7 separate regions of the Homo sapiens genome follow, and regions 1, 2, 3, 4, 5 and 7 are each linked to region 6. Evidence: promoter capture Hi-C in 16 types of primary human blood cells and fetal thymus (Javierre and others, 2016). All regions are on one chromosome and are shown on one strand. The core of a region is centred on a gene start or on the middle of the fragment in contact, and the rest is flanking DNA. Distances in the headings are between cores, read along the strand shown. Region 1 holds the start of SNHG12 (small nucleolar RNA host gene 12). Region 2 holds the start of TAF12 (TATA-box binding protein associated factor 12). Region 3 holds the start of GMEB1 (glucocorticoid modulatory element binding protein 1). Region 4 overlaps PHACTR4 (phosphatase and actin regulator 4). Region 5 has its middle 11 kb from the start of SESN2. Region 6 holds the start of SRSF4 (serine and arginine rich splicing factor 4). Region 7 overlaps PHACTR4 (phosphatase and actin regulator 4).

Region 1 (3,365 bases), core at 763-3,262, 600 kb after region 6:
CAACAAGAGGGAAACTCCGTCTCAAAAAAAAAAAGTTTTAAAAAATACATGTTACTTATTTATTTACTTTTATTTTATTATTACTTTTGAGATGGAATATTGATCTGTTGCCCAGACTGGAATGCAGTGGCACGATCTCGGTTCACTGCAACCTCTGCCTCAGCCTCCCGAGTAGCTGGGATTATAGGCGCCCGCCACCATGTCTGGTTAATTTTTTATATTTTTAGTAGAGACGGGGTTTCACCATCTTGGCCAGGCTGGTCTTGAACTCCTGATCTCGTGACCCACCCGCCTTGGCCTCCCAAAGTGCTGGGATTACAGGCATGAGTTACTGTGCCTGGCCTTATTTATTTTTAAAGGCAGGGTCTCACTTTGTTGCCCAGGCTGACCTCCAGCTCCTGGACAGAAGTGATCCTCCTGTTTCAGCTTCCCAAGTAGCTGGACTACAGGTGATCCACTGCATCTGCCTTAATATAATATGTATATCTATCTATCTATATATACACACACATAGATATAGATAGATATATATAGATATATTTTTTGAGAGGGAGTCTCGCTGTATCACCCAGGCTGGAGTGCAGTGGCATGATCTTGGCTCACTGCAACCTCTGCCTCCCAGGTTCGAGCGATTCTTATGCCTTAGCCTCCCAAGTAGCTGGGACTGTAGATGAGTGTCACCATGCCTGGGTAATTTTTTTTTTTTGTATTTTTAGTAGAGATGGGGTTTTGTCATGTTGGCCAGGCTGGTCTCTAGTTCCTGATGTCAGGTAATCCACCTGCCTTGGCCTCCCGAATTGGTGGGAGCTACTGCGCCTGGGAGATATACATTTTTTCTTAATGGTTTTTTGACAGCTTTATTGAGGCATAATTGACACAGAATAAACTGCACAAGCCTGGGCGAAAAAGCGAGACTTCATCTCCAAAAAAAAAAAAAAAAGTTTAATAATTTTACTTTTTTTCTTTTTTTTTTGAGACGGAGTCTCGCTCTTGTCGCCCAGGCTGGAGTGTAATGGCTCCATCTTAGCTCACTTCAACCTCCGCTTCCCAGGTTCAAACGATTCTCCTGCCTCAGCCTCCCAAGTAGCTGGGATTACAGGCGCCTGCCACCACGCCCAGCTAATTTTTGTATTTTTAGTAGAAACGGGTTTTCACCATGTTGGCTAGGCTGGACTTGAAATCCTGACCTCAGGTTATCTGCCCCCTCGGACTCCCAAAGTGCTGGAATTACAGGTGGGAGCCACCGCGCCCAGCATAATTATTAAGCTTTTAAAGCGTAAACAAACGGCCGGGCGCGGTGGCTCGTGCCTGTAATCCCAGCACTTTGGGAGGCCGAGGCGGGTGGATCACGAGGTCAGGAAATCGAGACCATCCTGCCCAACATGGGGAAACCCTGTCTCTACTAAAAATACAAAAAATTAGCCGGGCGTGGTGGCGGGCGCCTGTAATCCCAGCTACTTGGGAGGCTGAGGCAGGAGAATGGCGTGAACCCGGGAGCGGGAGCTTGCAGTGAGCTGAGATGGCGCCACTGCACTCCAGCCTGGGCGACAGAGCAGCTCCGTCTCAAGAAAAAAAAAAAAAAGCATAAACTACAAAAAAAAAAATTGACTCTTAGACTTCATAAAAATTAAAAAACTTTTAGCAGGCTGGCTGGCGTGTGGAGACCAGACTGTCGGGAGCAACAGCAGGATCTGGGAGATAAGAGACTATTGCTATCATCTGGGTCAACGATTAGGGTAACATCAGTGGAAGGGGTAAGAAACAGTCAGATTATTGATACATTTTAAAGGTAGAGCACACAGGAGTTGCTGATGGCTTGGACATGTGATGTTAGAGAAAGAGAGGAGTCCAGGACCACAGGCATGCGCCCCCACGACCTGCTAAAGTAGTACTTACTTTTTATTTTATTTTATTTTTTTGAGACAGAGTCTCGTTCTGTTGCCCAGGCTAGAGTGCAGTGACGCGATCTCGGCTCTCTGCAAGCTCCGCCTCCCGGGTTCACGCCATTCTCCTGCCTCAGCCTCCCGGGTAGCTGGGACTACAGGCGCCCGCGACCACGCCCGGCTAATTTTTTTTTGTATTTTTTTTTAGTAGAGACCGGGTTTCGCCGTGTTAGCCAGGATGGTCTCGATCTCCTGACCTCGTGATCCACCCGCCTTGGCCTCCCAAAGTGCTGGGATTACAGGCGTGAGTAACCGCACCCGGCAGTAGTACCTACTTTTTAAAGTGTAAGCAAGGAAAGTTGGCCCGCACCTGTAGTCCCATCTACCTGGGAGGCTGAGGTGGAAGAATTGCTTGAGCCCAGTTGGTCGAGGCTGCAATGAGCCTTGATCACGCCACTGCACTCCAGCCTGGGCAACAGAACAAGACCCTGTCTCAAACAAAAAAGTGTATGTAAGAATAAAAATTAATAGATTAGGCACAGGATGGGTGTTTAATTCTCGGCAATCACCACTAAGTTTTCATACTGAGGCTTATTCATTCCATGGGCAAAACATTGCGCTATGTGTGGTGCCTGGGGTGGGCTCCAAATTCCAGTCCTCTCCTCGCTTGCGATAGCTGTGTGATCCATTCCTAAGTTTCCTTATTTGTCCACAGAGCGTACACAGGGTTTTTATGAAAACTAGATCAGATAATCAGACACAGTTAAAATAGCACGCGCTCAGTAAAATTACATATTAGTGGAAGAGACAAGCCTTGAATAAATCGCCTTTCGGGGAGTATGACCCCCTCCCCGAAACCCACTCAGGCGCTGCTCGCTCGCACGCCCACTGAGCTCGGAGCGGAGCCCGAGCCCTTTCCCAGCACACAGGGTTCATTTCCAGACTGAAAGACATCCCAGAGACAACTCCAGAGGCCAAGGCGGGTCGGCTTCCTGCGTGGGCCCAGCGCCGGGCACTGAAAGGTGAAGGCGCTTCTTCCGCTCGGAGGAAAGCCTCTGGCGGTTCTCGCTTCGCGGGCTCGGGATGGACACGCGCGTAGGGCTGGGGAGGTGACGCGCGGACAACGCCGGGGCGAGCAAACTACAACTCCCAGGCAGCTGTGCGCCACGCGGGCGGCCTACTGTCGGGTGTGGCCGCGAGGGGCGGCCTATATAAGCTCTTGCTCGCGGCTTCAGCGCCCTTTCTCCCCGCCGCATTCCCGGTGTCGACTTACTAGCTGCAAGCCTCTGCCTGCCTTCCTGCGCGCCGTTCCCCGCTAGTCGCTGCTGCTGGCGCGCACTCGCCGGGTTTTTCCTCCCACGGCCTCGAGATGGTGGTGAATGTGGCACGGAGGAGCCGGGCCTTCCAACCCGGTGGGCCCGAGCTCCGAAAGGCCCCCTCGGCAGTGAGAGGGGCGGGAGCCCGCGGGGGCCGCGCCCTTCT
Region 2 (3,098 bases), core at 178-2,677, 540 kb after region 6:
ACGTATATACATTCAACCTGGGTCTTAAAAAAGATGTATAGGCATTCAACAACAAAAAGTGGTATGCCGGACCCTAAAAAGAATGGAGAGCAGTGGCAAGGAAATAAGGCTAGGAATACAGCTTAGAGCCCAATGTTCATGAGGACTTGAATCTGAGAATTTGGATTGGGTGGCAGTGTAGAGGGTGGACTGGGAACGTGGTAGGATGAGGATTAGGAAGATATAAAGACAGGGCAGGATGCCGCACCAATCTGGGCACCTCTTCCTAATTTCTATGTGGCTCACTCTGGCCTGTCACAGCTCTTTATACAATTTTTGGTGTGTTTGTGGGTTCTTCTCCATCTTACTGTGAACCTTACAGATGCTGGAATTGGGTCTTACTTGCATGCCTAACATTCCAGCATACAGTAAAAAATAACAGCTGTTCTCTTTTTTTTTTTTTTGAGACAGAGTCTCGCTCTGTCGCCCAGGCTGGAGTGCAGTGGCGCGATCTCGGCTCACTGCAACCTCCGCCCCTCCAGGTTTAAGCAGTTCTCTGCGTCAGCCTCCGGAGTAGCTGCGATTACAGGCGCATGCCACCACGCCCGGCTAATTTTTTGTATTTTTAGTAGAGACGGGGTTTCACCATCTTGGCCAGACTGGTCTTGAACTCTTGACCTCGTGATCCACCCTCCTCGGCCTCCCAAAGTGCTGGGATTACAGGCGTGAGCCACATAACAGCAGTTCTCACCAAGCATCTGACAGCCGAAAAACTGAAAGCATTAGAGAATGCTACAGGACAGGCTTTGGCTTAGTAGTGAGTTCTGAGTTCAAGCTGAGGCTCTGCACTTATTAGCTAGAACTTTGCTTAATCTCTCACAGGTCTCCTCTAAATGATTAAATGGCGTAACGGAGGTAAGCGGATTAGCACAATTCCCGGCAAACAGTAAGCACTCAATTGTTACTACTGAATTGCCAGTTCACAGGCACAACCAACCGATCTCTCTCATCTCCTGGTTCCTCTGTTGCCAACTTCCTCGTTGAGGTCCAACAGGATACCTGTGGGGTAATGTGTCCCAGATGATATCCCAGTCCTGACACCAAGACAAAGGCACCAACCAAAAATGGCGACCTCAAAGCCATCCGAGGGCGTCAATTACCCGTCATGCTACCGATAGATAAATAAGCAGCGTCGGGAAGAAAAGCTAGTGAAGGATTCTTAACGCCGGGTTGGAATACGCAGAGCTCGCTCATGCTGCCACTCAACCACAAGCAGTTAAAAGCGCAAGCTGCAGGGTGTACCTACACACAGCTCAATATCGCCACCACGTGTCGGAGGGCAGTCTGCGCCTGCGCAAGCGAGGCGCGCGCCCGCCGGCCGGAAGAGCCGCGCGTTTCCGGGTTGGAGGCGGGGAGCGGTGCCGGAAGTAGTCGGGGAGGGCCGCGCAGTCGGACCGGCTGCTGAGACGAACGCTTCACTGGGGCAGTCTCTGCATATCATGGGGAGATAGACGCTGCTGCCTGTGAGTCTTGGGCCCTGGCAGTTGAGGAACAAGAGCGGGAGGAGGGAGTCAGGACCCAGACCTACAGTGGGTCAGTGTTCGAAGGACCAGGTTGTGGACGAGACGGGGCTGTGAGGATTCAGGCTCTTGGGAAGGGACTGACTGAGAGGATCAGGCTCGGAGAAGACGCGGCTGTGGGGACCCGGGCTCTAAGACGGGACTTAGGGAACGGGGACGGATGCGAGTTCTCCGGCATCTGAGGGAAAGTGGTCTGAGAGGAGCAGGATTATGAGGACCCGCACTCCTACGAGGAAAGGGTCAGAAAGGAACGGGGCGTGAAGACACAGGCTCCGGAGAGGTAAAAGTGGAGCGGTGAGGACTTGGGCTCCTAAGAGGCAGAAGCGGGACAGTGAAGACCCGGGCTCCTAAGGATTCAGAAACGGGGCAGCGAAGACTTAGGTTCCTGAGGGGCAGAAGCAGACAGAGAAAACTTGAGTTTGGAAGGGAACAGAAGCGGGCAGTGAAGACTGGGGCTTCTTTGGGGACGGGATCCGGGCTTTGAGACTCCGAGTTCCTGAGTCTCGGAACAGGGCTGTGAGTACCCAAGCTCCTAAAAGCCTTGGATCTAAGGGACCATGGATATGAGATCAGCCTACAAAGTAAAGGGAAAGGGTTTGGAAAAGATTTAGTGATCCATTTTTTCACAGTATTCCCTGAACCCAGAGAGATAAAGGACGTATTCAGGGGAAGACAACTTCTCCTTCGCACTGCCTACTTGGCTCTTGGCAAGCTTTTCTTGTGTCAGATACTCAATCTAGGAAGCCCATATGCAAACATCTTCATTTTCTGCTTCATTCTTGGGAATCAGATGTGAAGTTGAAAACAGTTGGAACTCAGTTATGTACTTGATAAGTGCTTTAAATCCCATTCCACTCAACCCTGAATGAGCACAGATCTCTGCATCTCAAATAAAAGAATGTCAGTGATGGAAGAGTCCCAAAAGATCATCTTTTAAAAACTCCTATTTTACATTTAAGAAGGCTAAGGTTCAAAGAGGCTTAGGATTACAGTGAGGCAATGGTTAGTTAGATCATAATTTTAATACAGTACCCTTCTGTGCGTAGCAAATGAGATGCTTGGTTAATGTTCCTTAAATGCTTCTAGAATCTTTGCTTTATCTTCAAACTCAGGAGGGAATTTTTTTTTTTTTTTTTTTTTTGAGACAGGTTCTCTCTCTGTCGCCCAGTCTGAAGTGCAGCGGCTCAGTCTTGGCCCCGTGCACCTCCAACCTCCTAGGCTCAAGCAGTCTTCCCACCTATACCTCCTGAGTAGCTGGAACTACGGGCGTGTGCCACCACGCCCTGCTAATTTTTAAATTTTTTGTAGAAACAGGGTCTCACTATATTGCCCAGGCTGGTCTCAAACTCCTAAGCTCAAGTGATCCTCCCACCTTGGCCTCCCAAAGTGCTGGGATTACAGGCATGAGTCACCTCACCCCCCTTGCAGTTTTTGTTTTTGTTTTGTTTTGTTTTGTTTTTTTGAGACAGAGTCACCCAGGCTGGAGTGCAGTGGCACGATCTCGGCTCACTGCAATCTCTGCTTCCCCAGTTCAAACGA
Region 3 (3,320 bases), core at 705-3,204, 510 kb after region 6:
ACTTTAGGAGGCCAACGCGGGCGAATCACAAGGTCAGGAGATCGAAACCATCCTGGCTAACATGGTGAAACCCCGTCTCTACTAAAAACACAAAAAAATTAGCCTGGTTGGGCCAGGCGCAGTGATTCACGCCTGTAATCCCAGTACTCTGGGAGGCTGAGGATGTGGGATCACCTGAGGTTGGGAGTTCGAGACCAGCCTGGCCAACATGGTGAAACCCCGTCTCTATTAAAAATACAAAAATTAGCTGGGTGTGGTGGCGGGCGCCTGTAGCCCCAGCTACTCGGGAGGGTGAGGCAGGAGAATCGCTTGAACCCAAGAGGCGGAGGTTGCAGTGAGCTGAGATCGCGCCATTGCACTCCAGTCTGGGCAACAGGAGTGAAACTCCGTCTCAAACAACAACAACAACAACAACAAAATTGGCTGGTGTGGTGGCACGCGCCTGTAGTCCCAGCTACTCGGGAGGCTGAGGCAGGAGAATCGTTTGAACCCAGGAGGCGGAAGTTGCAGTGAGCCACCACTCCAGCCTGGGCGATAGAGTGAGACTCCGTCTCAAAAAACAAATAAATAAATAAATAAATAAAAAGGGTCCCCAAATGCACTTTGGTAACTATTAGAAGAGGCAAGGAGGAAGAAGATAATCCCTCAAGACTAGAATTATGTCTGACAGTCTCTTTTCCTAAAACCCGTCTTGATTGGCCTAAACAGACACCAATCAAGGCCCCATCTGTGTCTACTAGGAAGTGGTTTTGAGATTTCTCTCATCTTGAGAGAATCCAGGGCTGCGCCTGCTCTGCTGTCTAGGTCAAGACTTCACCCTCTTGTCTTGTGGATCATCCTCCAAAGACCCTCGGGTTGAGATTTTGCCTTCATCTCTCCTGCCCCTCAATTAGATAACACCTGGCCAATTCCTGTCATTTCAGAAAGCGGGAACACCTTAAGCATCTTTCCTCAACGATCTCTGCTTCTCTCAAAAAGATAGGTTTCTCCATCCCCTGACCGAGCGGGTTACTTTGTTCTCCACCTAGACATCAAGAGGCACCTAGACACCTTCCATCCCCTCAGGTTTGGACGCTGCTCTTTCGTACTTCAGGAGGCTCTAGGAGTCTTCCTACCACGCGCTCATCTGTGGGGAGACCTGGGCCTGCTCACTTCCCCTTAGAGCTCCTCTTCCTTCCCTGCCTTTGGAAAAAACCTGCCCTTTTTTCCCTTGTTCTGAGTGGCCGAGGCCTCTACCGCGCCCCTCGGGATAAGCTGGACTCTGCTCTCCTCAGAAGAACCCACTCTGTACTCTTGCTCTCCCGCCAAGGCTCCGAGAGGGTCTCCTCCCAGGCGGGCATCCGGGCTTCCAGCACCTATCGTCCCCCTCCCACTGGGCAGGACCCAGGCCTCCAACCAGCTCCTCATCCAAGGGCCCGGTGCTCCCCGGACCCCGCCTTTGGGGATACCCCAGGCTCCCCGGACCCCTCGATGGGGTCCTGGGCGCCTGGCCCTCTCAGTCCGGAGTCACTCCGGCCCCTCCTGGCCCCTGAGCCGAGTACTTCCGGGCCCCTCGGTCCGGGGGCGCCGGGGCCCCCCCAGTGGTGGACTCGCCGGTTCCCGCCGCCCTGGTCTGGGGCCCGAGCCCCGGCGGCGCGGCCGGCTGCGCTGGGGGCGGCCCGGCGGCTCGGGCGGACCCAGCGGCAGCGTCCCCCCACCCCCCCGCGGCGCCGCGACGTCCGCTCGCTCCCCGGCGGCGGCGGCGGCACGCACAGGGCGTGGGGAGGCGCCCGCGGAGGCAGCAGCCCCCCGCCCCCTGCGCGCCCGCCCGCCCTCGCCGGCCGCCGCGCGGCCCCCGCGCCCGCCCCCCCGCCCCCACCCCACCCCGCGCCCGCGCGCCCACCCCTCCCCCTCCTCACCGTCTCCGTCGGGCGGGCGGGCGGCGAGCGGCCAGGGCGGGCAGGCGACGGAGCATGCGCAGAGGCCGCCACGGCAGCTACCGCCACCGCCGCCGCCAGGCCGGGCTTCAACACTTCCGGCCGCCGCCGCCGGAGAGCTGGCGCCTTAAAGGGGACGCGTCCCTATTGCCGGTCCCACCGAGGATTAACCTTAGCCAAGGGATTTGGGCCTTACCTAAGCAGAATTCTTTCGCCCTTGAAAATCAGTGTTGGAAAGGTCGCTAGAGACCCCAGTAACTCTCCTTCCCGCACTCATAGATGAGGAAAATAGGCCCTAAATGAAAGAATCACCTCAACCACAATTGAGGGCCAAGCTAGCTTTCTCGACTCCTCTGGAGGACTCTACTCCATTTACCTCCCCAAATCCTGTTTTATGAAGTTTACATCTTATCGGACCCTTCAAGTTACAATCCAGCTATCAGTTTGCAATCAGAAGATCTGCATAGATCAGTAACTGGTCACGAGTCCTTGAGCAAGCCCTAAGCATTGTCTGACCCGTGCCTGTTTGCCAAGTTTTTCCTGCTTGTGAGTTTCTGGGTTGAAGTCTTGACTCCCCTGCTGGAAGTGTAAACGACTCTGGAGGAATTTCTTGACAGCTCTAAACCTGTTTCCGATAAGACATAATGTGAGTGCTAAAGAAGGTGATACCTGCATGAAAAGTGCTTCAGAGAGTTCCTGGGGTCAGTAATAGTAATTAACAAGTATTAAGACCTTTATTTTTTATTTATTTATTTATTTTTTTAGACAGAGTCTTGCTCTTTGGCCAGGCTGGAGTGCAGTGGCGCGATCTCGGCTCACTGCAGCTTCAGCCTCCTGGGTTCAAGTGATTCTCCGGCCTCAGCCTCCCGAAGAGCTGGCACTAGAGGCGCGCGACACCACGCCCGGCAATTTTTTTTTTTTTTTGTATTTTAGTAAAGACAGGATTTCACCATGTTGGCCAGGATGGTCTCAATATCTGACCTCATGATCCACCCGCCTGGGCCTCCCAAAGAGCTGGGATTACAGGCGTGAGCCACCGCGCCCGGCCGTATTAAGACCTTTCTATGGCCAGGTGTGGTGGCTTACGCCTGTAATCCCACACTTTGGGAAGCCGAGGCGGACAGATCACTTGAGACCAGGAGTTCGAGACCAGCCTGGGCAACATGGTGAAACCCCGTCTCTACTAAAAATACAGAAATTAGCCGGGCGTCGTGGCACGCGCCTCTAGTCCCAGCTACTCAGAAGGCTGAGCCAGGAGAATCACTTGAACCCGGGAGGCGGAGGTTGCAGTGAGCCGAGATCAGGCCATTGCACTCCAGCCTGGGCAACAGAGTGAGACTCTATCTCAAAAAACAAACAAACAAAAAGACCTTTCTATGGCCTATGGCTTGGTGAAGATGCTTC
Region 4 (3,320 bases), core at 263-2,762, 780 kb after region 6:
TCTGTAATTTATCTATAGATATGCTTACCTAAGTTCTTATTGTGTCTCTCCCAATCTAGAAAGTATCATTAGATACTTTATCTGTTCTGTTCACTACTATATCCCTGCATTTAGAAGGTGCATACACTAGGTACTAAGAAAATACTTACTGAATAAATAAATGAACACTAGCACCAAACAGTACTACATAGTCCGAGACCAACAAGAAATTAATAGAAATGGAATTAGGTAAGTATCCATGACGTATGTGAGCCATGAGAAAACCAAATAACTTCAAAGGAACAAGTTTCCTGGCAATGTGAATACCGAAAAGTGGTAAAAGAAATAAATCATGCCATATCACTTAACAGTAGAGACATACTAAACTCAAAAAATATTTATACACAGCAGAAATTTCATCAACACAAAATTATTCATCATATATATATTTTTTGAGACAGAGTCTTGCTCTGTCGCCCAGGCTGGAGTGCAGTGGCATGACCTTGGCTTACTATAACCCCCGCCTCCTGGATTCAAGCGATTCTCCTGCCTCAGCCTCCCCAGTAGCTGAGATTACCGGCATGTGCCACCACACCCAGCTAATTTTTGTATTTTTAGTAGAGATGGGGTTCCACCATGTTGGCCAGGCTGGTCTTGAACTCCTGACCTCTGGTGATCCACCCGCCTCGGCCTCCCAAAGTGCAGAGATTACAGATGTGAGCCACCGCACCCAGCCTTTCCTACCTCTTTACACAGCTAATTCCTTTAAATCTCAAGCTTGGCTAACGTGTCTTCCGGAATACCTTCTGTATTAGGGTTCTTCTCAGAAACAGAACCAGTAGGATGGATACAAAACATACATATTTGAGATCTGATAAAACTATTGCCTCAAAAGTGCTTCTTTTTGAATATCAGTATTTAATTAATTAAATTTTTTTTTCTTTTTTGAGACAGAGTCTTGCTCTGTCACCCAGGCTGGAGTGCAGTAGCGCGATCTTGGCTCACTGCAACCTCCAGCTCCCAGGTTCAAGCAATTCTCCTGCCTCAGCCTCCCAAGTAGCTGGGATTATAGGCATGTGCCCCCACGCCCGGCTAATTTTTGTGTTTTTGGTAGAGACAGGGTTTCACCATGTTCACCAGGCTGGTCTCGAACTCTTGACCTCAAGCGATCCGCCTGCCTTAGCCTCCCAAAGTGCTGGGATTACAGGCATGAGCCACCGTGCTCGGCCTATTTTATTTTTTGAGACAGGGTCTGTCTACTCTGTTGCCCAGGCTGGAGTGCGGTGGCATGATCTCGGCTCACTGCAACCCTCCGCCTGTGGGGTTCAAGTGATTCTCCTGCCTCAGCCTCCTGAGTAGCTGGGACTACAGACACATGCCACTATGCCTGGCTAATTTTTTGTATTTTTAGTAGAGACGGGGTTTCACCATGCTGGCCAGGCTGGTCTCAAACTCCTGACCTCATGATCTGCCCACCTTGGCCTCCCAAAGTTCCAGGATTACAGGCGTGAGCCACCCCGGCCAGCCACCCAACAGATATTTAATGCTGCTGTTGCTAATGGCAGCCACAGCCTTGGTGGTGTTAACATAGGTATATGAGAATTCTAAAATATATTATCCTCTTCCCACCTTTAACAGAACTCTTCGAATGTATCAATTCCTCAACTTGGTAACTGTGGCTAGGTCAGTTCAGTGAAAGAAACACAGAAGCATGTACTGCAGGCTAGAAACTTGATATTAAAAGCAAAAATTAGGCCAGCGGCGGTGGCTCATGCCTGTAATCCCAGCACTTTGGGAGGCCGAGGCGGGCGGATCATGAGGTCAGGAGATCAAGACCATCCTGGCCCAAATGGTGAAAACCCGTTTCTACTAAAAATACAAAAACAACAACAACAACAAAAAATTAGCAGGGCATGGTGGCACGCACCTGTAGTCCCAGCTACTCGGGAGGCTGAGGCAGAGGAATCGCTTGAACCCAGGAGGTGGAGGTTGCAGTGAGCCGAGACTGCGCCACTGCACGCCAGCCTGGCGACAGAGAAAGACTCAAAAAAAAAAAAAAAAGCAAAAATTATTTTTTTCTCAATTACCCTAATAATAGCTTCATTCCTTGTTTCATTTTGAATGTCCAAGATAGCCTCAGATTGTACATACAAATATAAATTAATCTACTCAGATGGAAACCGTCAAGAATGAAATTATTTTCTGCCTTTTCTATTCCTTTCTGGGTAATTGCTGTAACGCTAGACCCGTGTTATTCAAAATAACCTTCTCCCTCCTGAGAAAGCTTAACAAGCCAGGCAAAAATCAAAAGAACAAAAGTTTACTGGTTAAGAGAACTTGCATTATCTTTCATTGGACAAATTAGCACAAGTTAGTTTCAAATATCAATCATATACAAACTGGTTAATGATTTTGGTTACAAAAGATAATATTGCAGAATAATTTAACCTTCTTGTCTTTGGGGATTCAAGTGGGATTAATAATACTCATCTTTAATGAGAATCTCATGAAATAGCATTTATTATAAAATAAAACAGGAAGAAATGGGCTGTGCCTGGCATATAGTTGGCAGTCTTAAAGCTCACCTCACTCCTCCATTTCAGTTCTAAAACAAAAAAAGCAGTTTTTAATTCTATCATGATTCAAAGCCTGATCAAAATACACAATGTCTAAAAACACCATCAAGATAATGAAACCTAAATTTACATTGGCAGACTGAACAACTAAAGTGTTATTTCCACATTTTCTTGGACTTGATTTAAAAGCATATCACGGCCAGGCACGGTGGCTCACACCTGCAATCCCAGCACTTTAGGAGGCCGAGGCGGGTAGATCACCCGATGTCAGGAATTTGAGACCAGCCTGGCCAACACGGTGAAACCCCGTCTCTACTAAAAATACAAAAAAAAAAAAAAAAAAAGAAAGAAAGAAAGAAAGAAATTAGCCGGGCGTGGTGGTGTAAGCCTGTAATCTCAGCTACTCAGGAGGCTGAGGCAGGAGAATCGCTTGAACCCAGGAGGCAGAGGTTGCAGTGAGCCGAGATTGCGCCATTGCACTCCAGCCTGGGAGACAAGAACAAAACACCGTCTCAAAAAAAAAAAAAGCACATCACTAGAGAAAATTAAGAAAGTAATAAGGTATCTATTCTTCTAGAGTGACCTTCAGATGCTACTACATTAATATAAGGAGTAAATACTGTAATCTACACGCATCTTTATTATCTTCTTTTTTTTTTGAGACAGAGTTTCGCTTTGTCACTCAGGCTGGAGTGCAATGGTGCGATCTCAGCTCACTGCAACCTCCGCCTCCCAGGTTCAAGTGATTCTTCCGACTCAGCCTCC
Region 5 (3,097 bases), core at 596-3,095, 930 kb after region 6:
TTCCTTCCTTTTTTCATTCAATAAATATTTATTTACCATCTTGTGTGTACCAGGCACTGTGCCTGGCTCTGGGAAATCCAGTGGTGAAGCTAGCAGCCTAGCAGGGCATGGCAGGGTGCCACTGGCTGGGCACATTCCTCCCCTCCCCACTGCCTTGTATTTTTGGTTGGGTAAAGATCTCCTTCTTCTGTTGCCACACTCTCAACTCTTGCATCAGCTATGTTGAGGCCACTGATTGGCCAGCTATTTATATTCCTCAATCACCTTCCAGTCCCAAAGATACACCTACCTAGACTGGATTTGAAATGTTTTTGAGATGTCTTCAGCCTTAGATCCATTTCAGATTATGACCCTAATATGATTGTCATCTGTTCTGTATTCATTCTTCCTGAATTAGTTTTCTAGTCTCAAATTCTGAGATCACTTTACTATAATGACCTTGTAATGGGACCATTCGGGGGGCTGTGATTTATCACCCCAGATGTCATTTTCTGAGCTCTTCTTATTGTTTCCCCCCTCCCCACCCACTAATCTCAGATACAATTCCTGCCCAGGGGGAACTTTCAGGAAAGAAGTTCCACTCCAATTGGTTTGATAAAGCCAAAGAAGACCCATCCTTCAAGGCTTAGTCACACATTAATTCAATTACTCATGAAGCAGGCATTGTGCTAGGTGGGGAGGGAGGTCCTTCCTGCACAGAGCTGACAGGTGCCGAGCTGTCAAGCTACACAACCAAAATTGTCCTTTGGAGTTGTGCATTAGCAGGCAGTACAACCACAGACTCCCAGAAACAAAGCCAACTATCTCCTAAGAGCACTTCCCAGGAGTCAGGCAATTCGGGTGCCAGCTTTTAGCCAAGTAACCCAAACTGAATTTTTTTTTTCCAGCTCTTTGAATCTGTTTCCCTATCTGTAAAACAAAGAAATAGAAATTAGCTCTAAACTTGCAGAGTCATTATGGAGAGAACTGGTGCCATAAAGAACTGGCAGTGTATATAATTCGTCTTCTCGATTGCATACTGAGGACAGAAATCTTCAGGTTTGGAAACGTTTACCCTTCTTAAATGCAAAAACTAACGCACTGGGTGCTTTTGGGCAAATTGCTTGGTTGATTTAGTTTAGTTTTGTCGGCTGAGTGGTTCCTCAACGCCCCCTGCAGGCCAGATCCTGCTATAGCTAAGTCAGAATGGAGTAGGAAAGGGCTGGCCCAAACCGTTTTGAGTTTATAGGATTGTTAGGGTCCATGTCACCGCCTGAAGGTCTTGAAAAGAGGCCAGGCAACAGCTAAGTAAAGGTCTGTGGTTGCTGAAGATTCCCCCTGCTGCCAGCAAGGACCAGAGTCCTAAAATACTTCACAGCCCGAATGCACTTTCCATTGTTTTGGCTTACTACCTCTCTTACAAGGCAGGAAGCCTCAGGTCGAGAGAGAGGAATTTGCCCAAGGTTCCCTAGGAAGTTGGCCACAGAGTGGAGACTAGAATCTCGAGGTCCAGGGCTACCTACACCTTAATAGGCTGCCCCAGGAGAGAAGCCTCACATTTTCAGAAAGAACAACTTCTCCCTTTCCTCTGGTCTCCCTTCCTTCCCCAACCCTCCACTCCTAGAGGCTCTATACATCCTATTCTCAGAGAACCACCCTGAGGCTTGTCCCTGGAGCAACGCCTCTGGCCTCCCACCATCCTGTCCTACCTTTCCCTATCCCCAGCGGAATTCTGTACCCCGACCCCCTCCCTAAAAAGGCCACACTTGGAATCAGGATATCGGAGTTGAAGGTTCCAGTTCCAACCCTTTCTTTGTGAACCTCAGCAAAACACTTCACTTCTCTGAACCCGTTTCCTGTTTTTTTGTTTTTGTTTTTCTTTTATTACGTTTTTGTTTTTCTGAGACAGGTCTCGTTCTGTTGCCCAGGCTGGAGTGCAGTGGCGCGATCATAGCTCACTTAAGTTTGGAGCTCCTGGGTCCTCTCACCTCAGCCTTCCGAGTAGCTGGGTCTACAGGACTGCATGTTAAATGTTAAATGGGGCAATAGTTTACCTCCACCGTTCTATTGTGAGAATGAGAGCTTATGCATGGAAACCCCTTAACAAGGCTTGATGCAGATGAAGTGCTCAATAAACTGTAGATTATCTATATTTTTACTGTTATTTTGAAGGATCTGGCTCAGTGACTGGCTGATAGTGGTGGGTGTTCAAGAAAGGTGCCTACAACCATTAATATTAAAAGTTTGGCGCACATAGCCTGGCATTTAGTTGCAGTTTAATAAACTGTGGCTAGTATTGTTTTTTTGACCCCAGGACGCCCAGTGCGGTTTCAGCGTTAACAACTCCTTAGCGAAAATTGCAGAACAGACTTTTCGCTCAGCAACAGGCTCCTCTTACGTAAACCGCACCGGCCAATGAGCAGGAAGATGGGCGGGGTTTCTTGGCAGCCAATAGTAGCCCGCAGCGGCGCGCAGGATAGGCCCAGGCTGGTTTCCAGGCTGCGTACGGAAACGAATCCCCGGGGCTCTTTGACTGGGGGCGAGTCTTCGAAGTCGCCAGGCTCTGCCTATCAACCGGGTCCTGATTGGTGCAGGCTGTGGCGGTCCGCCCCTGACTCCGTCTAGCCCCGCTCCGCGAGAAGAGGCTGAACTGCCCCATCTGCTTCTAATTTCTTTCTTTCTTTCTTTCTTTCTTTTTTTCCCCTCTTTTCCTTTTCTTCTTTTAAATATACGTTTGGAAATTTGCCGGGCGTGGTGGCGGGCGCCTGTAATCCCAGCTACTCGGGAGGCTGAGGCAGGAGAATCGCTTGAATCCGGGAGACGGAGGTTGCAGTGAGCCGAGAACGCGCCACTACACTCCAGCCTGGACGACGAGAGTGATACTCCGTCTCAGTCAATCAATCAATCAATCAATCGTTTGATTTTCGTTTTATGCTTTTACTTCCAAATTTATATTTATTGCAAAAAATGTGGAATATAACAAAGTGTAAAGGTGAAACTGAAATAACCCGAAATTATATTTCCCCCTCTGTGGTTTTTTTTTTTCCGTCTCTGTGTTTTTCAATGTTTTTCAGGCCTTCTGTCTTGAGCTCGTATTACTGCTGTTCACTGATGTATT
Region 6 (3,202 bases), core at 191-2,690:
CTTATTTCAATGTCCTTCACCAGGGCACTGGCTAAATAAATTACTGTGTATAAAATGGTATGAACCATAAAACTAGTCCTTTTATACTCTTAAGGAATGATTTTCAAAATATATTTTGTGTAGAACCATATGTATAGTATCCTACTATTTGTTTTATAAGGGTAAATTAACCTCCTAAAGGACATTTCAGAAACTGCCTCTGGGAAGAGAAACTAAGTGGCTGGTGGACAGCGAAGACTTTTCACTGTGTATCATTTGAACCTTGAGTTATCCTTTCAAAATATTCAAAAAACAAAAACAAGCAAAGAAACAAAACCCTTTATGGTTCTAGGTACATGGCGTTAGTGAGAAGGGAACCAATATTTATTGAGCTCTTACCATGTTTCAGACACTGTTCCAAGTACTTTCACATACACTACCCCATTTAGTGACCTGTGTAATCCTTGAGATGGGTATACATTATTCTAATTTTACAGGTTAGAAAATAGACTGGATAGGCCAGGCGCAGTGGCTCACGCCTGTAATCCCAGCACTTTGGGAGGCCAAGGCGGGCGGATCACCTGAGGTCTGGAGTTTGAGACCTGCCTGGCCAATATGGTGAAACTTCCTCTCTCCTAAAAATACAAAAATTAGCCGGGCGTGGGGGCGGGCGCCTGTAGTCCCAGCTACTCTGGAGGCTGAGGCAGGAGAATCGCTTGAACCCGGGAGGCGGAGGTTGCAGTGAGCTGAGGTCGCGCCACTGCACTCCAGCCTGGGCGACCGAGCGAAACTCGTCTCAAAAAAAAAAAAATAGGTTGGATTGTGGTCAAGTAATTTACTCGGCGTCATGCCTAGTCTAGCTCCAAAGCTCCAGCCTTCTCCGCTTCTCACACTGCTTCTATTTAAGCAGTGTCCTCTTAAAAATAATACTGGTCTCATTTATTGGGCACTTGATATGACAAAACTACTAAGTGCTTTATGTACGTATTCTCATATAATTCTCAAGACAACTCTGGAAGGTAGGAACTACTCTCCCCCTTTTACAGAAAAGATAAAGGAGGGTCCGAGACATCGCGCGTAACAAGCCCAAGGTCACGGGTACACAATCGTTTGGAAGCTAGGTTTGATTCCAAAGCTCCAGCTCCGAAATCCAAACCACACCCGGTTCAAAGGACAAAAGCACAAACGCTCGCTCGCTGGGCTCTAGGAGGTGCGGACACTTCCGGGGGAGGGGCGAAGCCAGCTGGCTGCGGAAGGCGGTGCAGGAACCCCTTTGGCGAGCTCGCGCGAGGACGTGCCGCAGCGCCGCCTGTCGATCACCTTGCCCCGCCGCACGTCGGCGCGCCCCCGGGCAAGCTCCTCCCCCAGTCCTGGCCGAGCGGGAAGCGAACGCGCGCTCTCTCCGGTTACCTTCCGCCTCGGGGAAGGGCGGGGGAAGTGGAAGCGCGCGCTCGCGAGCTGCGTGCTCGCGTACGTCGCCGGGGTTCGGCTGCGTCCGTCCCGCCGCCCGCCCGTTGCCGCCGCCGCCGCTGCCGCCGTGCTCTCGCTTTGCCCGCCGCCGCCTAAGGGGGGCTGGGGCCGGGGCCAGCCATCACTGCCGTTGCCGGGATGCCGCGGGTGTACATCGGCCGCCTGAGCTACCAGGCCCGGGAGCGCGATGTGGAGCGCTTCTTTAAGGGCTACGGGAAGATCCTGGAGGTGGATCTGAAGAACGGGTGAGGAGGGCGAAAGAGGGTCCGGCCGGGCGGGGACAGACCCCATAGGTGGTGGGGAGGCCGCGGGGACGGGAGAGGGACGCCTGGTCCGCGCGGAGCGGCTACCGGCCTGGCCAGGCTCCGCCATAGTGGCGGCGCCTCGGGGGCGCGGGTAGGCCCCGGTTCCCACTGCGCCTGCGCGGGTGGGGGTGGTGGAGGCATAATGGGAGCTGTGCTGAGGCCCTGAGTGGGACGGGGAGAAGGAAAGCCCGAGTGGGGCTGGTGCTCCGGGCAGGGGGGCACAGCTCCAGGGCGCCCGGGAGACCTGGGTTTTCCCTTCCTAGGCCCGGAACTGGGGCCCTATTCGTTTCTGGGTAGACACCAACCTTTCCCGCTCTGAGGACTACTGGAAATAAACAGGATTTCCTGCTCCCTTTCACCTCTTGCCCGGTCTCATGGATCAGACGGTCACAGCGCCGTCTTCCCCGAGGACTGGAGCCTTGGAGGGAGGCCCTTTTTAGCCGTGTGCCACGCTTTTTTGGGCGGGAGACTCCAGTTTGAGTAGTCTAGTGACAGTTTCGAAAGTATCGTCTTGCCGTGCTGAAAGCCTTCACCGTTCCCTCTGCAAGAGTAAATTAAAGTCTTAACTTCTTATCTTTAAGACTCCGTGCAGAGTTTCCACGCTGTGGTTTCCGTTTTCCAACTTACCGAAAAATTGCTTGGCCGTTGTAGAATTTGTTAGGAGAATAGTGGCCACCCTGGCTAGTATCTGCGTCTGGTTAACGCAGACGGAGACGAAATTGTTAACTTACTGCCTCCCCCAGAGTATGATCTATTACTTGTATTCTTAATCTACTTCGGCAAAAATAGTGCCAGCATGAGCTACAGGTTTTAGGGAAAACTGTTGAGGAATCAGGCCTGGAGAAAATACTCAACGGGGAAAACTGGGAACCAGATGTTAGGTAGGGCTTGGAAGGCATGGATATAAAATTAAAAGGACTGGGGTGACATTTTAGGGCACTAAACCTTGGGTGTTAGAGAACTCTTGGCTTAAAAAAGAAACTCTACTTTGCAACAGTTGTAATATAGCTACCGTTTACTCCCCAGGGTTATACTAGTAACTGACACCTGAAACATTTTGAAAGTTACCTAAGTATGTTTCACGTATGAGAAAACTGGTAGCTACCGTATTCTCAAATGATGATTTGGGTTTAAAAAGCCATTTCAAATTAATTATTAGAATCGTTTTCTTTCTGAGGACGTCTTTAGTAAAGTACTGATTTCTTTTACAGTAAAAGGCTTTAAAAACTACTCCTTTTCTACAGTAAAACGTTCAGTTCTTAAGGATATATTGAAGTGGCGGGTAGACGTTATTGTATACATACCATATATGTGAAAGTTGAAACTCCAGTTTTTTTCAGAGCCCAGCTAAATTGACAGCATAACTAACTTTTGTGGACAAAGTGTGGATTTTGAAGCCAGCCAGGCCTAAGTCAAATCCTGGTTCCACCACTTACTACGTATGGGCA
Region 7 (3,552 bases), core at 409-2,908, 690 kb after region 6:
AGCCTCATTTGCCTCTTTTTGTAAATGTTCTAAGAATCATGTAAAGATACTTTCACTGATTCCATTTGTGGCTAGCTGATTCTTTGGATATGGGTGGGTCCTTAATCACAACCGTAATTCCAAATCAAAACACTTGATTTGTTGGCTTGTTGGCTTTGTTGGATTTCTTGGCTTGTTTCATGAAGACAGCTAATTAAAATGTTGTTTATACATTAAGTTGGTAAGATCAACTGTGCTAGACAGAACTGAACCAGAGAGGGCAAGATCTTGTCTAACTTAGCACAGTCTCCTCATTTATAACCTGAGAGAGTAAGGTACAAGGAAGAGAGCACCTCACATCCTTGAAGTCATTGATTTCTTTCTCCGAATCCTGGTTCTGCAATTTACTAGCAAGTCAACCAAGTTACTTAACCATTGTGAGCCTCCATTTCCTCAGTGATAAAATGGGGATGTTAACACATCTTGCATGTTTATTACAAGGATTAAATAATATACATGAAATGCCATAATCAGAATACACATTTACTTATTTTTTTTTTTTTTTTGAGATGGAGTTTTGCTCTTGTCACCCAGGCTGGAGTGCAATGGCATGATCTCAGCTCACTACAACCTCCATCTCCCGGGTTCAAGTGATTCTCCCGCATCATCCTCCCTAATAGTTGGGATTACAGGCGCCTGCTACCAGGCCCAGCTAATTTTTGTATTTTTAGTAGAGATGGGGTTTTGCCATGTTGGTCCGGCTGGTCTCAAACTCCTGACCTCAGGTGATCCACCTGCCTCAGCCTCCCAAAGTACTGGGATTACAGGCGTGAGCCACCGCACCTGGCCTAGGCATTTACTATTGCTTCTTACTTTTCATCCCTTTGAATGCAGTCTTGCAATCAACACTGAGTGTTTTCCTTTTTACTGATGTCATTAGAGCCCTTCATATCTGAACAATTTTTTGGAAAACTCTACCTAGCACATATATGATTGGGTCTTTTGGGTCTTACCGTGTAAAATGTTTGCTCTCTTCATGAACCTCCATCTCGGAGCTTTTAAATTCATTTAATTCTTTTCTTATGGCAGCCTGTGGAGTAGAGACAAAAATGTTTCAGCTTCTTCTGGCTGCTTTGCACAGCAGTGTAACTTGTCATTTTTCTGTACTGTGTTTAACTTTGTAAGTCACTGCAACCCCTCACAGGCAACCCAGACACCAGGTCAACACAATGATACCCATCTGTCTCATAATAAACCTAAAATTTTTAGTTTAATCAAAATACTTGAAAATCTTGAAAGATATATTGTAGCTTTTATAGTTTTGTTTTTATTTTTGTTTTTCCCTGAGATGGAATCTCGCTCCGTTGCTGGGGCTGGAGTGCAGTGGTGCAATCTCAGCTCACTGCAACCTTCAGCTCCTGGGTTCAGGCGATTCTCCTGCCTCAGCCTCCCGAATAGCTGGGATTACAGGTGCGCACTACCACGTCCGGCTATTTTGTATTTTTAGTACAGACAGGGTTTCACCATGTTGGCCAGGCTGGTCTTGAACTCCTGACCTCAAGAGATCTACCTGCTTCGGCCTCCCAAAGTGCTGGGATTACAGGTGTGAGCCACTGCACCTGGCTAGTTTTGTTTTTTTTTTAATTTTAATTTTTTATTTTTATTTTTGAGGTGGAGTCTCACTCTGCTGCCCAGGCTGGAGTGCATTGGCATGATCTTGGCTCACTGCAACCTCCACCTCCTAGGTTCAAGCAATTCTCCTGCTTCAGCCTTCCAAGTAGCTGGTATTACAGGTGCATGCCATCACACCCAGCTAATTTTTGTATTTTTAGTAGAGATGGGGTTTCACCATGTTGGCCAGGCTGGTCTCGAACTCCTTACCTCGAGTGATCCCTCTGCATTGGCCTCCCAAAGTGCTAGGATTACAGGCATAAGCCACCACGCCTGGCCAGCTTTTATAGTTTTTCACAGCATTATAAAAATGAAATATTGGTAATTACTAAAATATATAGCCCAAACTCCCTCTAACCAAACAACCACTGTTTGAAATGTATTTATTCCTTCCAGTATTTTTACTCTGTGAGATAGCAGGGATTTTCTTTCTTTCAGTATTGGTGGTGGAGTTACCAAAACATACTGAGTTAGTATAACATTTTGACTTGTTCAACTTGGCATTTTGTATCTTGATTTGAAATTTAATATTATATTAAAACTAGAAGTTTTGTTTATGGTTCTCCCTTCTAGTTAGTATCTTGGATCCTCCAAATAAAGAGAAAAAGAGAAAGAGAAAAAAAGCAAGAGAGTGCTTTCCAGGTACCTTGTCAGCAGGGGTCAGTTTGGTCCAAGGTTTGTCGGCTCGCCGGTCATAATCTTGAGCATCTGTTACCTCTACATATTCATTAAACCTCAGAATCTTCCTGGCAAGGAGTTCAGCGACAGTTGGCCTTTGACTGAGCTGAAGGAAACGGAGCCTCTTAGTTCACCAAGCCAATAATTAGGCATCAATCATGCATTCAAATTGCCTCTAACCCAGTGCTTCAATCTTCATTGGAATCACCTGGGGGAGCTTTAGACACTATTGATCCCTGGAGGTCCCACCCCCAGTGATTATGGTTATCAGGTGGTTTTTTGTTTTGTTTTTTTTTTTGAGACAGGGTCTTGCCCTGTCACCCAGGCTGGAGTGCAGTGGCACAATCACAGCTCACTGCAGCCTCAACCTCCCAAGCTCAAATGATCCTCCTACCTCAGCCTCCCAAGTAGCTGATATTACAGGCGCATACCACCATGCCTGGCTAATATATATTTTTTTTTGTAGAGGTGGGGTCTTGCCATGTTGCCCAGGCTGCAAATTCATTTTTTTCTTTTTCTTTTCTTTCTTCTTCTTTTTTTTTTTTTTAATGTAGACACAAGGTTTCACTGTTTTCCCCAGGCTGGTCTTGAACTCCTGGGCTCAAGCAATCCTCCTGCCATGGCCTTCCAAAGTGCTGGGATTACAGGCGCAAGCCACTGTGCCCAGCTGTGAATTCATTTCCAATCAAATAGGCCATCCAAATATAACACATATAGTTAACTGAACACACAGGCAGTAGTACCTTTCTAGTGAGCCGACGTTTAATTTCTCGTTTTTCTGCCTGACGATCAGCTTCATTTTTAGCTACAGTTGACAATCAGAAGGAAGGAATATTACTCACAAATGACAATTTGCATATCAAACGTTTTAGTAATTACATTACAGATATTTCTTTTTTGTTTTTTTTTTTTGAGACGGAGTTTTGCTCTTGTTGCCCAGGCTGGAGTGCAATGGTACAATCTTGGCTCACTGCAACCTCGGCCTCCCGAGTTCAAGCGATTCTCCTGTCTCAGCCTCCCGAGTAGCTGGGATTACAGGCACATGCCATGCACAGCTGATTTTTGTATTTTTAGTAGAGACAGAGTTTCATCATATTGGTCAGGCTGGTCTCAAACTCCTGACCTCAGGTGATCCACCCGCCTCGGCCTTCCAAAGTGCTGGGATTACAGGCGTGAGCCACCGTGCCCAGCCCAGATATTTCTTTTTTTTTCTTTTTTTTTTTT

What was found. The method cuts DNA at HindIII sites, captures the fragments that hold promoters and counts their contacts. A CHiCAGO score of 5 or more calls a contact.
Region 1: a contact is called between the fragment with the promoter of SNHG12 here and the fragment with the promoter of SRSF4 in region 6, in 12 of 17 cell types (neutrophils, total CD8 T cells, erythroblasts and 9 more). The highest score is 14.4, in neutrophils.
Region 2: a contact is called between the fragment with the promoter of TAF12 here and the fragment with the promoter of SRSF4 in region 6, in 12 of 17 cell types (non-activated CD4 T cells, neutrophils, naive CD4 T cells and 9 more). The highest score is 10.0, in non-activated CD4 T cells.
Region 3: a contact is called between the fragment with the promoter of GMEB1 here and the fragment with the promoter of SRSF4 in region 6, in 1 of 17 cell types (neutrophils). The highest score is 5.0, in neutrophils.
Region 4: a contact is called between a fragment that was not itself captured here and the fragment with the promoter of SRSF4 in region 6, in 2 of 17 cell types (activated CD4 T cells and total CD4 T cells). The highest score is 5.3, in activated CD4 T cells.
Region 5: a fragment that was not itself captured here is called in contact with the fragment with the promoter of SRSF4 in region 6 in 2 of 17 cell types (neutrophils and fetal thymus); the score reaches 5.4 in neutrophils.
Region 7: a fragment that was not itself captured here is called in contact with the fragment with the promoter of SRSF4 in region 6 in 1 of 17 cell types (neutrophils); the score reaches 5.4 in neutrophils.

What each region holds. Positions count from the first base shown.
Region 1 is chr1:28,581,630-28,584,994 of GRCh38, reverse strand. SNHG12 (small nucleolar RNA host gene 12) reads left to right here and starts at 2,012. Exons shown (of 6, transcript NR_146382.1): 1 at 2,012-2,905. RefSeq lists an enhancer at 2,845-3,365. The HindIII fragment of the contact is 3,732 bases long and covers 1,269-3,365 here.
Region 2 is chr1:28,641,396-28,644,493 of GRCh38, reverse strand. TAF12 (TATA-box binding protein associated factor 12) reads left to right here and starts at 1,427. Exons shown (of 6, transcript NM_005644.4): 1 at 1,427-1,502. TAF12-DT (TAF12 divergent transcript) reads right to left here and starts at 1,238. Exons shown (of 2, transcript NR_146730.1): 1 at 731-1,238. The HindIII fragment of the contact is 14,626 bases long and covers 1-2,273 here.
Region 3 is chr1:28,667,418-28,670,737 of GRCh38, reverse strand. GMEB1 (glucocorticoid modulatory element binding protein 1) reads right to left here and starts at 1,954. Exons shown (of 10, transcript NM_001319674.2): 1 at 1,899-1,954. RefSeq lists enhancers at 713-772, 823-872 and silencers at 1,403-1,692, 1,703-1,812, 1,843-1,982. The HindIII fragment of the contact is 26,935 bases long and covers 1-3,320 here.
Region 4 is chr1:28,396,425-28,399,744 of GRCh38, reverse strand. The region is part of intron 1 of PHACTR4 (phosphatase and actin regulator 4); the gene reads right to left. Among named protein-coding and RNA genes, the nearest start is that of PHACTR4, 28 kb to the right of the region's middle. The HindIII fragment of the contact is 1,507 bases long and covers 759-2,265 here.
Region 5 is chr1:28,246,710-28,249,806 of GRCh38, reverse strand. No RefSeq gene overlaps it. Among named protein-coding and RNA genes, the nearest start is that of SESN2, 11 kb to the left of the region's middle. RefSeq lists enhancers at 1,205-1,404, 2,646-2,815. The HindIII fragment of the contact is 6,700 bases long and covers 1-3,097 here.
Region 6 is chr1:29,180,138-29,183,339 of GRCh38, reverse strand. SRSF4 (serine and arginine rich splicing factor 4) reads left to right here and starts at 1,440. Exons shown (of 6, transcript NM_005626.5): 1 at 1,440-1,694. The coding sequence starts at 1,588. It also overlaps a transcript of MECR not described here. RefSeq lists enhancers at 112-749, 1,092-1,321, 750-1,387 and silencers at 1,392-1,601, 1,652-1,841. The HindIII fragment of the contact is 7,304 bases long and covers 1-3,202 here.
Region 7 is chr1:28,490,532-28,494,083 of GRCh38, reverse strand. PHACTR4 (phosphatase and actin regulator 4) reads right to left here. Exons shown (of 14, transcript NM_001048183.3): 11 at 3,072-3,133; 12 at 2,297-2,434; 13 at 993-1,069. Among named protein-coding and RNA genes, the nearest start is that of SNHG3, 14 kb to the left of the region's middle. The HindIII fragment of the contact is 5,965 bases long and covers 1-3,552 here.